Regions from separate parts of the Homo sapiens genome. Here region 2 is linked to region 1. Evidence: promoter capture Hi-C in 16 types of primary human blood cells and fetal thymus (Javierre and others, 2016). All regions are on one chromosome and are shown on one strand. Each heading gives the region's core, a stretch centred on a gene start or on the middle of the fragment in contact. The rest is flanking DNA. Distances are from core to core; before and after follow the strand shown. Region 1 holds the start of CUEDC1 (CUE domain containing 1). Region 2 overlaps MRPS23 (mitochondrial ribosomal protein S23).

Region 1 (6,250 bases), core at 3,253-5,752:
CCTCCTCACCCCTCCCCCAGCTTACAGGGCAAATTCTCCAAAGAAAAGGAAAAAGAGTTGGTTCCACAGCAGGGCTACAGATGCTGAGTCATTCTGCCCCCAAATATGCTTAGCTGTCACCCATGACATTTCAGTCTCCCCACCCCCGCCTCCACTGTGCGGTCCTCTCTGCTCATCATTCAAGAGCCTCACCCCACCCCCTCCCACTCTTCCAAAATCCACCCTCAGCCTCTACAGTTTTTACCAAAGATTTTCCTTAATAATGAGCCTCAGAATTTGTGTACCGCTGTGCAGAAATGGCAATAATAATAATAGCTTCGATGTAATGAACACTTCCTCTTTGTCTGGCATACACATGAGATCTCTTTTAACTCTTTCTAAATATAGGAAACTCTGGCACTTACAAAGTCTTAGAGTAAGATGGAGAGCTGGGATTCTACCTGGAGATGCCTAACTTCAGATCTTACACTCTAAACAACTAAGCTATGATGAAAATGTGCACAAAATAACTCAGTTGCTTCCTGGGGGTGGAAGTTAAGCCAGTGGAGTTGGAACTTTTTTTTTTTTGAGACAGAGTCTCACTCTGTTGTCCAGGCTAGAGTCCAGTGGTGCAATCTCAGCTCACTGCAACCTCCGCCTCCCGAGTTCAAATGATTCTCCTGCCTCAGCCTCCCAAGTAGCTGGGGTTACAAGTACGCACCACCATGCCCGGCTAATTTTTTGTATTTTTAGTAGAGATAGGTTTCACCATGTTGGCCAGGCTGGTCTCGAACTCCTGACCTCAGGTGATCCACCCGCCTCAGCCTCCCAAAGTGCTGGGATTACAGGCAGGAGCCACCACGCCCAGCCTAAACATTTTTATCTTACCAAGAATTCCTCAAAGACCCTTGGTGCTGCCACAATGCAAATGAAATGGTCACATTTATAAGAAGGGAGTTTATATTTACAAGGACTGTTATCACATTTATCATTTATGACCTGCTTTAAAGATAAGACATTTAGCTGCATCATCAAGAGTCTGTGATAATGCGCTGACACATCAGAGGTTCTGGGAGCCTGGAAGCCAAGGGGATCAGAGAAACACTGAGTGAGCCAACACAGCTAGCATCCTGAACTCACCAACCCATGGTAGCCAGGGCCACAGCATGACTGAGAAGTCATGGCCACTGGGGAAGGTGAATCCTCAGTCACTGCAACAAGGACTTTGCATGCCACCAAGACACTTTCAATTCCCAAGTCAAGGACCACTGGACCACAGCGCTTTAGGGTCTCCAATGCCCTTCATTTTATTTTATTTTATTTTATTTTATTTATTTATTTATGTTTTTTTTTTGGAGACAAAGTTTTGCTCTTGTCATCCAGGTTGGAGTGCAATGGCACAACTTCGGCTCACTGCAACCTCCACCTCCCAGGTTCAAGCAATTCTCCTGCCTCAGTCTCCTGAGTAGCTGGGATTACAGGCACACGCCACCACACCCAGCAAATTTTTGTATTTTTAGTAGAGACGGGGTTTCACCATGTTGGCCAGACTAGTCTTAAACTCCTGACCTCAGGTGATCCACCCCCCTCGGCCTCCCAGAGTGGTGGGATTACAGGCATGAGCCACCGCATCCGGCCTCCAATGCCCTTTATAGCTCTTGCTTCCTGTAAGTGCAAGAGCCAGCAACACAGAAGCACCACCTCCTCCAGCTCACCTTGGATAGTCAGAGGTGACCCCTGTCAGACACCCAGCTTCCTGTGCCCCAAGGCTCTAGAATACTCCTGCCTCTGCTGCTTATTACCAGAGCAAATGTAGGAAGCTCTAAAGGAAGAATACCAGTGTGAGTGCTGCCATATGCCAAACACTGTGCTCTCTAGTTAAACAAAGAAAAATCCCCTACAGCTCTCTGTGGGGGACTTGAGCCTAAGGAAGTCTTCTCAGTCCCAAGGTAGAGAAGTCACAAATGGCAGATCGTCCTAAAGCTCTTCCAGATCCCTAGCAAGTGTAGATGCCACAAACACCTATGCAGCAGCCCAGGACCCAGTGAGCCAAGAAAGGAAAGGCAGGCCAGGCCTCCTCTGGCCTGGGGCTGCACTGGGGATAGTGACAGCAGCCCTCTGGCCCCCACTTGCCTTCAAGAGTCCAAAGGGATCTAAGGAACCGACAACACCCAGATCATAGCCTTGGACAATTCTGCCCCAAGACCTCCTTAAGAGTCGTCTTTCACACTTAACACTCTCTACTAAAGCACCTCAACCCCATTTCCCCAAGAACAAGCTGGAGCTCTTAAAGGCCTGGATCTCACACCCAGCTGAAACACCAGAATATCCACCTCCACCCAAATCCCTTTATTTACCTCTAATTCAATAGACCAGTGGGCCTAGTCCAGTGCCCAGGGCCTTCCCACCACACAGACAGCAAAATGAGCCCCTGGAAAAGGGCCACCTCATCTGCCCCCATCCTCTAGCTAGCTGTAGGGAGCTGGGATCTGTCCAGACACTCCAGGTCTCCATGGCCACAAGCCCAAAGTTGCATAGGGAGGTCATGAGAAAAGACCTTAGAAGCAGTCTGCTCTTTGAACCCTGGGATTATTCACTGACCAGCCAAAAAGGTGACAACTGTTCTGATGGCCCAGGTCAGACCAGTAACTCTAGGGCAGAGGTCTCAATGGAGGTCCTGGTTCCAAGGGGGTATATTAACCGTCTGGTGTTGAATACAGGTGTCTCCCTACACACATGCATTTTGGAAGGAGAGGAGTTAGAGCTTTCACCAGATTCTCAAAGGGGCCCATGACTCCAACCTCTGGCCCTAGTTGGCCTGGCCCAGGAGCTGGGGATACAGCCCTAGTCATATCAACATCCCTGGGCCATCCTCGCTGTCCAGGGTCTCTCTTCTATTCAAGGATGTGCCCAGGTCGGTAGCAGTATCCTGTTTCCCTTGTCCTGGCCCTTCCAGCTGCAGAAAGTGGACAGCGGGTTTCACACCCAGCCCTGCTGCACACGCTCCAGCTTCCTGGAGACCCGAGCCAGGTTTCTCCCAGCAGCACCTCTCCATCCCAGAGATGGCACCATATTCAAACTGAGGTACCAGTGGCACTGACCCCCAACAACAGAGAGGACCCAGCTTCACACTTGATCCAGCAGGGGCCCAACCACATGGTGAGATGACTTCCTCCGTGAGAGAATTCCTGGGGTCCCTCACCTCCTTCAGGCACAGCTGGCTATAAAGAAAAGGGGTGAAAGGCCCAGTACATCTCCCTGAGTCCTTTCTCCTGGGCCAGGTGGCTCAGGTGCTGCGGGATCACCCAGGGAAGGCTCATTCCTCTCGCTACAAGACGCTGACTGCGGATCAGGTGGGGAGCACGGTGGATGGTCTTCTTGTATCCTCTATCGCCTCCAGGGCATCTTGTTTCTAAACTCCCAGGGAGTCCCCTCATCTTCTACTCCACTACTCCACCAAAAAAAGGAAAATCTAAACCCTCCCTCCCCTTAAAACACATTCCGTCTCAGGAATTTAATTTCAGTGTACGTTTCTTAGAGCTAAAACTTTTTTTAAGGGGAAAAGAAATGGGCAGGGCAGTGCTGGGTGTAAGGCGACCACGCGACCGAGAAAAGGAAGAGGGAGGAATGAATAAACGCTGACACCAGCCCCCCTTGGAGCTCAGAGCCTGGGGCACAGGAGCCGGCGGGGCGGGCGAGCAGGGGCGGGGACAGCGCATTCCCAACTTTCCCTGGCCGAGCTGACGGGAGATACAGCTCCCAGGGGACCGGGAGGGACCAAAAAAGGCTGAGCCGACCTGTGACATCGGCGGGGGGCAGGAAGCGAAGCTCCCCTCCCCCTGAAAGGCGCTCGGCTCCCAGCAGGCGCCCCCGCCTGCCGTCGCCGCCCAGCCTGCGCCCCCAGGCCCGGGCACTGCGGGGAGGGGCGCCCACACAAAAGGGGGAGCGGCGGGAGAGGGGACTCGGGCGAAGCCGGCTCCGGGAGGCCTCGTCTCCCTTCCCTGCGGCGCTGGCCCGCGCCCCCCGGTCTAATCGCGCGCCCCGCTCCCGGCCCCCCAGATGCCCGCACGCCCCCCGCGCCCGGGGCCCGGGATGAGGTGGGGGCTCGGGAAGGAAGGGCGGGCGGGGACCTGCCGCACGCGGAGCTCCCGGGGAGCCGCGCCGACAGCCCCGGGAATCAAACTCGCGACGGCCCGGCCCTCCCGGCGGCGCCTGGGCAACGGGTCCCGAGAAGGTGGGGCCGCTGGGCCGGGGCCGCGGCCGGGATTGCGCGCGGGGCGCCGGCGAGGACCGCGCCCGGGGCCGGGCGGGAGCCGCGGGAGCGCGGGGGTCTTACCGGGCAGCGCCACGCGCGTCCGCTCCGCGCGGGCCGCAGGGGCCGGGCCGCGGGCCGGGCGGGGGAGGGGCTGCAATCCGCAGCGGTGGCGGCGGGGCCAGGCTCGGCGGCGGCGGCGCGGCTGGGGCGCGGGGAGGCGGAGAAAGTGAGGCGAGGCCGGCTTCCTAGCGGCGGGCGGCGAGAAATGCAGCTGTCCCTGCGCGGCTGCCGGCAGGGCCACAAGTGGGGCCGCGCGGGGAGGAGCGGGGCTGCGGGCGGGGCGGGGCGGGGGCCCGGCTGCGGCGCCCCCGGGCCCTTTCCCTATGGCCGACCCCTTTCCAGAGAGGAGGGAAGCGGACCTGGGGGTCCGGAAACCTACATGGTTGCCGGGGGTGGAGAGGGGAGCACCCAGTGAAGGCTGGAAAAATGCCCTCCGTGTACCTCCCTCCCCGGCCGCAGTGACTCCCTAGCTTGCGGGCAGGAGGGCGTGAGCGGGGTGCCTCGACCTCCCGCGCAGAGCGGGGTGCGGGGCATCCTGCCCCTCCCAGCTGCGGAGAGGGTGGGCGGAGGAGACCTGAGACCTCCGAGACTCCGCGGGGAGCTAAGAGCAGGGCTGCCCGACAGGTTCCAGGTCAGTGCCAGGAACCCAGGGTGAGGACGCACAGCTGGGGCTTGGGACACAGGTGTGGAGGAGGGGCACCTCCCTGGAATTAGGGCCCCGGAAAGGAAACCAAATCAAATGCTGAGGACACAGGAGATGGTGGGAAGGGGGAGCAAATCAAAGCTATCACTCGTCCACACCGACAGATACCACCTGCCATCTCCCATTTTCTCCTCCCCCAACCTCCCCAGCATCCCTGATCACTTCAAGGGCTGCTGAGCCCTGGGAAGATTTTCCACGGAAGAACTTGTTTAATAAATGGGAAACTGACCTTTGCTATACTTTTCCCACGTGCTTTCATTTCAGACTCCAATTTGGGAGTAGGTAGCCTAGGTCAGGTGGTGACCACCAAGCACCCTGCTACCTAGGGGATCTGAGGAGGGTGAAGAAGGCCAGATGCAAACTAAGCTCTGTCCCCAAACAACTTGCAAAGGGTCTGCACCCTCCTCCTGGAAAAGTCTGCCTTACAGACCCATTTGCCCATCTGGGCCCAGAACCCCAGGAATAGCCCCCCTCTCCCCTCCTCTGAGCGCTTGCAATTTGCTAGCCTTGCTGAGACAGATCGACACGCTCAGCCTCAGAGACAGCTGATGGTAAAAACCACAAACCAAAGTGCCCCAGACACCAATGTGTTTCCATCATTTGCATGTCAAGGGCAAGTTTCTTCAGCAAGGTGGGAAACTGGGAGGGGGAGAAACCTCAGAACCACACCCTCCTCGGGGAGGCCCAACGTTAGGTTAGCATGTTGAACGGAACTCCAGGACTGGGTTTCCAAACCCCTCTGAGGATCTCCTCTCTCCTGCTCCTCTCTCCCCACACTTCACTCCCTGGTGCATTCAATTTCCGGGGGAGGCAGGGTGCTTGAAATCCCAGAAGATGGTCTTCAGGCCCCAGGTTAAAGATTCTTAATCCGAAGGGACAGACCCATGCCTCTATACTGACTCCTGGCTCCTTTCCCAGGTTGTAACTGAGAGCTCAGGATTTGTCCGCCTGGCCAATATAGTCTAGATTATGTTATCAAGTGTATTACCTTACACTTACCCATAGTGCAGTTCATTTGTCACTTTCCTGCTTACTTGCAAGATCCCTCTGCAGTTCATTCCTGTCACCTTGGCATTTCAGGAGCAGAAAAATGCATCTGCAAACCTGGAGATTTCCATTTGCACTCGCCTATGGATTGCTCATAATTTTTTTTTTTTTGAGACGGAGTTTCGCTCTGTCACCCAGGCTGGAGTGCAGTGGCACGATCTCAACTCACTGCAACCTCCGCCTCCCAGGTTCAAGCAATTCTCCTG
Region 2 (6,084 bases), core at 2,283-4,782, 110 kb before region 1:
TTCTCCCCATCCAGATATTTGCTATACAGGGATGGTCTTTCCCTTCTGGTCCAGAGTCCCAGTCTGGTTTAACAAGATCAGAATGTGTAGGGGAACGCATTCTCATACATTGCTATGAGAGTATAGTTAAGCACAATTTCTATGGACGAAGATATCAAAACTCAAAATGATCTGCTCCTTGATCCAGCATCCCATAACTCTAGCAGCCCATTTGCAACACAGTAAAACAAAGAACATTTTCTTCAATCGGGCACTGATTAAATCACAGTGGATCTCTGAGACATAGTAACTAGAAAAGCAAGGTACAGAACAGTATGCATAGTGTCCTGTCCATGCCCAAAATATTTCTGGAAGAGCGCACAAGGAAATGGTGATAGTGATGGCCTCAGGGAAGGGGAAAAGGGTGGCTGGGGAACAGGGGTGGGAGACTAGCTTTTTACTGTTAAGTTTTGAACCATGTGCATGTATAATTTTTTTAAAGAATTATGCAACAAATAACTTCTTTAAAAGTCTTCAGCCCCAGTACGGTCGCTCAGGCCTGTAATCCCAGCACTTTGGGCGGCTGAGGCAGGAGGATCGCTTGAGGCCAGGAGTTTGAGACCAGGCCAGCCTGGGCAACATAGCAAGACTCCATCTCTACAAAAAAAAACAAACAAAAAAAATGTTAAAGAGCCAGGCGTGGTGGCACATGCCTATAGTCCTAGCTATTCGGGAAGTGAGCCAGGATGGCTTCAGCCCAGGAGTTAAGACTGCGGCAGGGTATGCACCACTGCACCCAGCCTGGGTAACACAGTGAGACCCCCATCTCCTAAAACAAAATTAAAAAAAAAAAAAATTAAGGCCAGGCATGGTGGCTAACACCCGTAATCCCAGCATTTTGGGAGGTTGAGATGGGTGGATCACTTGAGGCCAGCAGTTTGAGATCAGCCTGGGCAACATGGTTAAAAGCCCGTTTCTACTAAAAATACAAAAATTAGCCGGGCGTCATAGCATACACCTGTAATCCCAGCTACTTGGGAGGCTGAGGCAGAAGAACTGCTTGAACCTGGGAGGCGGAGGTTGCAGTGGGCCAAGATGGCTCCACTGTACTCCAGCCTGGGAAACAAAGTGATACTCCATCGCAAAAAAAAAAAAAAAAAAAAAAAAAAAATTAAAAATCTACAGAGGAGGAAAACAAACAAAAATAGCAAAAATGGGACATCAATCCAGACATGAAGGAAAAAAACATTTTTTAAATATTCATCATTGTGGCAAAAAAAACCTGCCCTTAAAAAACCAGAAACCTAAGGTTTAAAGAGATGAGTGACCCCTCAATTGTTCCTCTGAGAATAGACTGTGTCTTTCACCTGCTTTTTAAGTCCTCTTCCCAAGGTCTGGCCCGATGTTTGGTCTCAATGGTTGTGTAATGTCTCTGAATGGATGAAATTTACTTCCCTACGGAAAAGTAAAGCATTCTCCAAATGCAAGCAGTTGTGAAACAGTGATAAAGGTCGAGGGGGAAGCAGCATGGCTGAGAGCTGCTTTTGCCTAATGTATTCATTCACCTGCATGAACCAAGCACCCACGTGCATGGATGTGTACTATATACAGACTGTGAGATGTGGACCTGCCTCACAGTGTACCAGGAGAGATGAGAGCATACACAAAGAATCACTGGGTAGAAAATCTACATGAGTTTTAAAATAGGGAATTTCTGAAGCAGCTTACTACTAACAGCTAAAAACCACTGGCTTGACCACATATACAAAGGCTGCAATCTCAGAGGGATATTTCATGTATTTAGTAAAACCTGGGGAAACGAGGAAGGCAGGGAAGTTGATAAGGACTTGTAGGCACACTTTGGCCCCAGGGAGGCAGGTGGATGCTGGTGGAGAGCATCACCTAAATTAGCTGCCTCCTTTCTTGGCAATCCTGTTATCTACACCATATGAATCCAGTCTTTAGCTGGATATAACCATTCGTTCACTCATTCATTCAACAAGTATTTACTGAACAGCCTAGTCTGTGCAGGCCTATGTTAACTGTCTCCAGCACACTCAATCCATGACATTAAAGTTACAGTTTTGGTCTTTGTGTATCAGCAATGACAGGTCCTCACTCTTACCACAAAGCGCAAGTCAGCTTGGCCTCTCAAGTGGAGAGATAATCGTTCTATAGCAAGAAGTACAAAGATTCTCTGCAGACAAAACCAGCTAGCCAAGGTTCCACAACATGTGTACACGTATAAGTCTGATGGATCAGAAGAAATATGTACCCGGGAATCAGATGTAGCCAGCCCACATACTAACAAACATCAAAGCAAGCCTAGTCAGATTGAGTCCCATTTGAACAATCTTTATAAAGGTTTCTTCATGTTATTTACAATTCAAAGTAAATTTACTTTATAAGCAGCTAGGGAATTCTTTATTTAGTAATGTCCTAACATAAAAGTTCACATAACTGCTTCTGTCAAACCATGATACTGAGCTTTGTGACAACCCAGAAATAACTAAGAGAAGGCAAACATAATACCTTAGAGATCAAGAAACATTTACACAGTTCAACTGTTTAAAAATAGCTCAACATTCAGCCAGTGAGTAGAGTGTGAATGCCAGCATACACAGTATACAGGTCCTTCAGGGAGGCAAGAGACCTTTCGACTGGTCTGCAGGTGCCTCCAAATGCTGGTCCTGTGGAACTTCTTTCTGAGTCTCGTTTTCTTCCAACGCAGTCTGTGGTCTGACACTCAAGTGTTCGGATTTCCGGGAAACGTGACTACCTCCGTGTTGCTTAAAAGACCAGATTTAAGTATCACAGAGATGTTATCATTTTCACTCAATTAATTCGCTAAAGATATATAACTAGGCACATTCTGTCACTGAGTGAAAAATTTAGCACTAATATCTTAGATCCAATTCTACTATAACAAATAGTAAACATGATTTTAAAAAGTCTATAGGGCCGGGCGTGGTGGCTCACGCCTGTAATCCCAGCACTTTGGGAGGCTGAGGCGGGCGGATCACGAGGTCAGGAGATCAAGACCATCCTGGCTAACACGGTGAAACCCCGTCTCTTCTAAAGCTACAAAAAATTAGCTGAGCATGGTGGCAGGCGCCTGTGGTCCCAGCTACTCGGGAGGCTGAGGCAGGAGAATGGCATGAACCTAGGAGGCAGAGCTTGCAGTGAGCCAAGACTGCGCCACTGCACTCCAGCCTGGGTGACAGAGCGAGACTCCGTCTCAAAAAAAAAAAAAAAAGTCTATAGAACCAAATTTCAAAAGCCCTAATGACGACTCACTTGTTTCAAGTAGCAGTCATTACCACAAAATTCTAGTATATTCAGTGTAACAGTATTTGACCTGGAGTTTAAGAACATAAGCCAAGGTTAGGGAAAGAAAACCAAGTCTCTCTTTAACTTCCATCAGATTGGCAACTCTGGTCAACCCTCTGCATCTACAGGTTCCACATATGCAGATTCAACAAACCACGGATCAAAAATATTTTAACAATAAATAAATAAAATAAAAAATATAAATTTTTAAAAATAGAGTATAACTACTTACATAGCATTTACAATGTGTTATGTATTATAAATGATTTAGAGATGATTAAAGTATATGGGAGGATATGTGTAGGTTATATGCAAAAACCACAGCACTTTATAAAAGGTATTTCAGCATCTGTGAATATTGGTATCTGCAGGGGCCCTAGCACCAATCCCCTGTGCATACTGAGGGACAACTATAAACCCAGTAACAATTTTAACAATGAAATACTCACAGTCCTTGCTTCGCCTACTCGTCTTAAAATGACACCTTCTGCCAATAAAGCCTTCCCTGTTTCCACAAATAACTTCTCTTCATCTGTTTCTCCAAGTTTCTGTAGCTCAGTGTACTTCTCCACAAACCTGTAATTCCAAGCAGTCACATTTTAGGTATGTTTGTAAGCATTGTTAAGACGCTGTTACACAATATCAAATGGATAACAAAATCCTTAAAAAATAATATGAATAGCCTAGGACTTATAAAATGGCTTACCGTTGACAGGTAGACTTGAAGTTTGGATTGAATAGATCAAAAGCTCTTTGACCAGACCCATACACTGAATAAAACTTCCTAGAAAATGCAAACAACATAATATAAATCTCCGATTATAGACTGTGGATGAGAATGGAATAAAAGAAATAAAGAATAAGTGCTAGGCACTGAGGAGTTAAGTACGGTATAACCCACATAGCCTAAGCTGAACAGTTTTGTTTTTTTAGATAAGTAATGCACACATGCACATGGTAAATACATCAAATAGCACAAAAGGGTGGCCAGTGAAAAGTAACACTCCCTCCCACTTCTGCACCCCAGCCCCCCAGTTCCCTTCCCAGGAAGCAACACTAACAAATTTCTTGTATATCCATCCAGAAATATTCCACTAATATACTAGCATATATGCACTATCATTCCCTGTCCCCAGCCACATTTTTAACCCCAAGAATAGTAAACCTTGCTCTACATCTTGCCTTTTTAAAAACTGAGGTATGGCTAGGCGCAGTGGCTCATGCCTATAATCCCAGCACTTTGGGAGGCTGAGGCAGGCAGATTACTTGCAACTGGGAGTTCAGCATGGTGAAACCCCATCTCTACTAAAAATACAAAGAAATTAGCAGGCATGGTGGCATATGCCTGTAGTCACAGCTACTTGGGAGGGTTAGGTGGGAGAATCACTTGAACCCAGGAGGCAGAGGTTGCAGTAAGTGGAGAGCGCACCATTGCACTCCAACCTGGGCAACAGAATGAGACTCCGTCTCAAAAAATAATAACAAAATAAAAATAAATAATAAAAACTGAGGTAAAAGTCACACATCATAAAATTAACTTTTTTTTTTTCCAAAGAGACAGGGTCTCACTGTGTCACCAACGCAGGTAGCAGTGCTGTGATCATAGCTCACTGCAGCCTCAAACTCCTGGGCTCAAGCAATCCTCTTGCCTCAGCATCCTGAGTAGCTGGAACTACAGGTTCGCAGCACCACCATGCCTGGCTAAGTTTTAAATTTTTGTAGAGATGCAGTCTCACTATGTTGCCCAGGCTGGTCTTGAACTGCTAGCCTCAAGAGATCCTCCCACCTTGGCTTCCAAAAATGCTGGGCTTACAGGCATGAGCCATTGTCCCCAGCCCACATTTAACATTTTTCAGTGTGCAATTAAGTGACATGTAGAAAACTCACAAAGCTGTGCAACTAGCACCTCTATCAAGTTCCAAAACATTTTCATCACCCCCAAAAGGAGGCACTGTATCTGAGCAGTCACTCCCCATTTCTCCTCCCTACATCTTGCCTTATCAGTGCCATGGAGATTGTTTCCAGTCCTTTACTACTCTAAACCATGCTGCAATCATTATCTCTATTTATAATTTTAGTGCACTACGTAAATAAGTCTGTGGCATAAATTCACAAATGTGGTACTACTGGATCAAGGTATGTGCATTTGTAATTAAGCCTTCCAAATTGCCAAAATGCTTTCCAAAGTGGCTGTACCAATTTACATTCACATAGGTAATATACGAGCACCTATCTCCCCACACCCTGACCAAATGACATTCTCCAGCTGAGCATAGAGGCTCACGCATATAATCCCACCTGCTTGGGAAGCTGAGGCATGAGGATCTTTTGAGGCCAGGAGCTCACCACCAGCTTGGGCAACATGGTGAGACCTGAGACCCTGTCTCTAAAAAAAAAAAAAAAATATATATATATACACACACACACACACACACACACACACACACACACACACACACGAGGCAGGTGCAGTGGCTCACACCTGTAATCCCAGCAAAAATATATATATATATTTAGACCAGGCGTGCTGGCTGATGCCTGTAATCCCAGCACTTTGGAAGGCCAAGGCAGGAGGATCACTTGAGGCCAGGAGTTCAAGACCAGCCTGGGCAATATAGTGGGACACCATCTCTACAAAAAAAATTAAAAATTAGCCAGGAATGGTGGCATACACCTGTAGTCCCAGCTACTCAGGAGGCTGAGGTGGGAGGATCACTTGAGTCCAGGAGGTCAAGGCTGCAGTAAGCCATGATAGGCACCACTGCATCCCAGTCT

What was found. The method cuts DNA at HindIII sites, captures the fragments that hold promoters and counts their contacts. A CHiCAGO score of 5 or more calls a contact.
Region 2: a fragment that was not itself captured here is called in contact with the fragment with the promoter of CUEDC1 in region 1 in 1 of 17 cell types (neutrophils); the score reaches 6.0 in neutrophils.

The regions. Positions count from the first base shown.
Region 1 is chr17:57,950,910-57,957,159 of GRCh38, forward strand. It overlaps CUEDC1 (CUE domain containing 1), which reads right to left and starts at 4,503. Exons shown (of 11, transcript NM_001271875.2): 1 at 4,316-4,503. RefSeq lists an enhancer at 1,568-2,069 and a silencer at 4,358-4,427. The HindIII fragment of the contact is 9,939 bases long and covers 1-6,250 here.
Region 2 is chr17:57,837,168-57,843,251 of GRCh38, forward strand. It overlaps MRPS23 (mitochondrial ribosomal protein S23), which reads right to left. Exons shown (of 5, transcript NM_016070.4): 3 at 4,016-4,093; 4 at 3,759-3,885; 5 at 1-2,768. The coding sequence ends at 2,616. Among named protein-coding and RNA genes, the nearest start is that of MRPS23, 9.8 kb to the right of the region's middle. The HindIII fragment of the contact is 7,205 bases long and covers 1-6,084 here.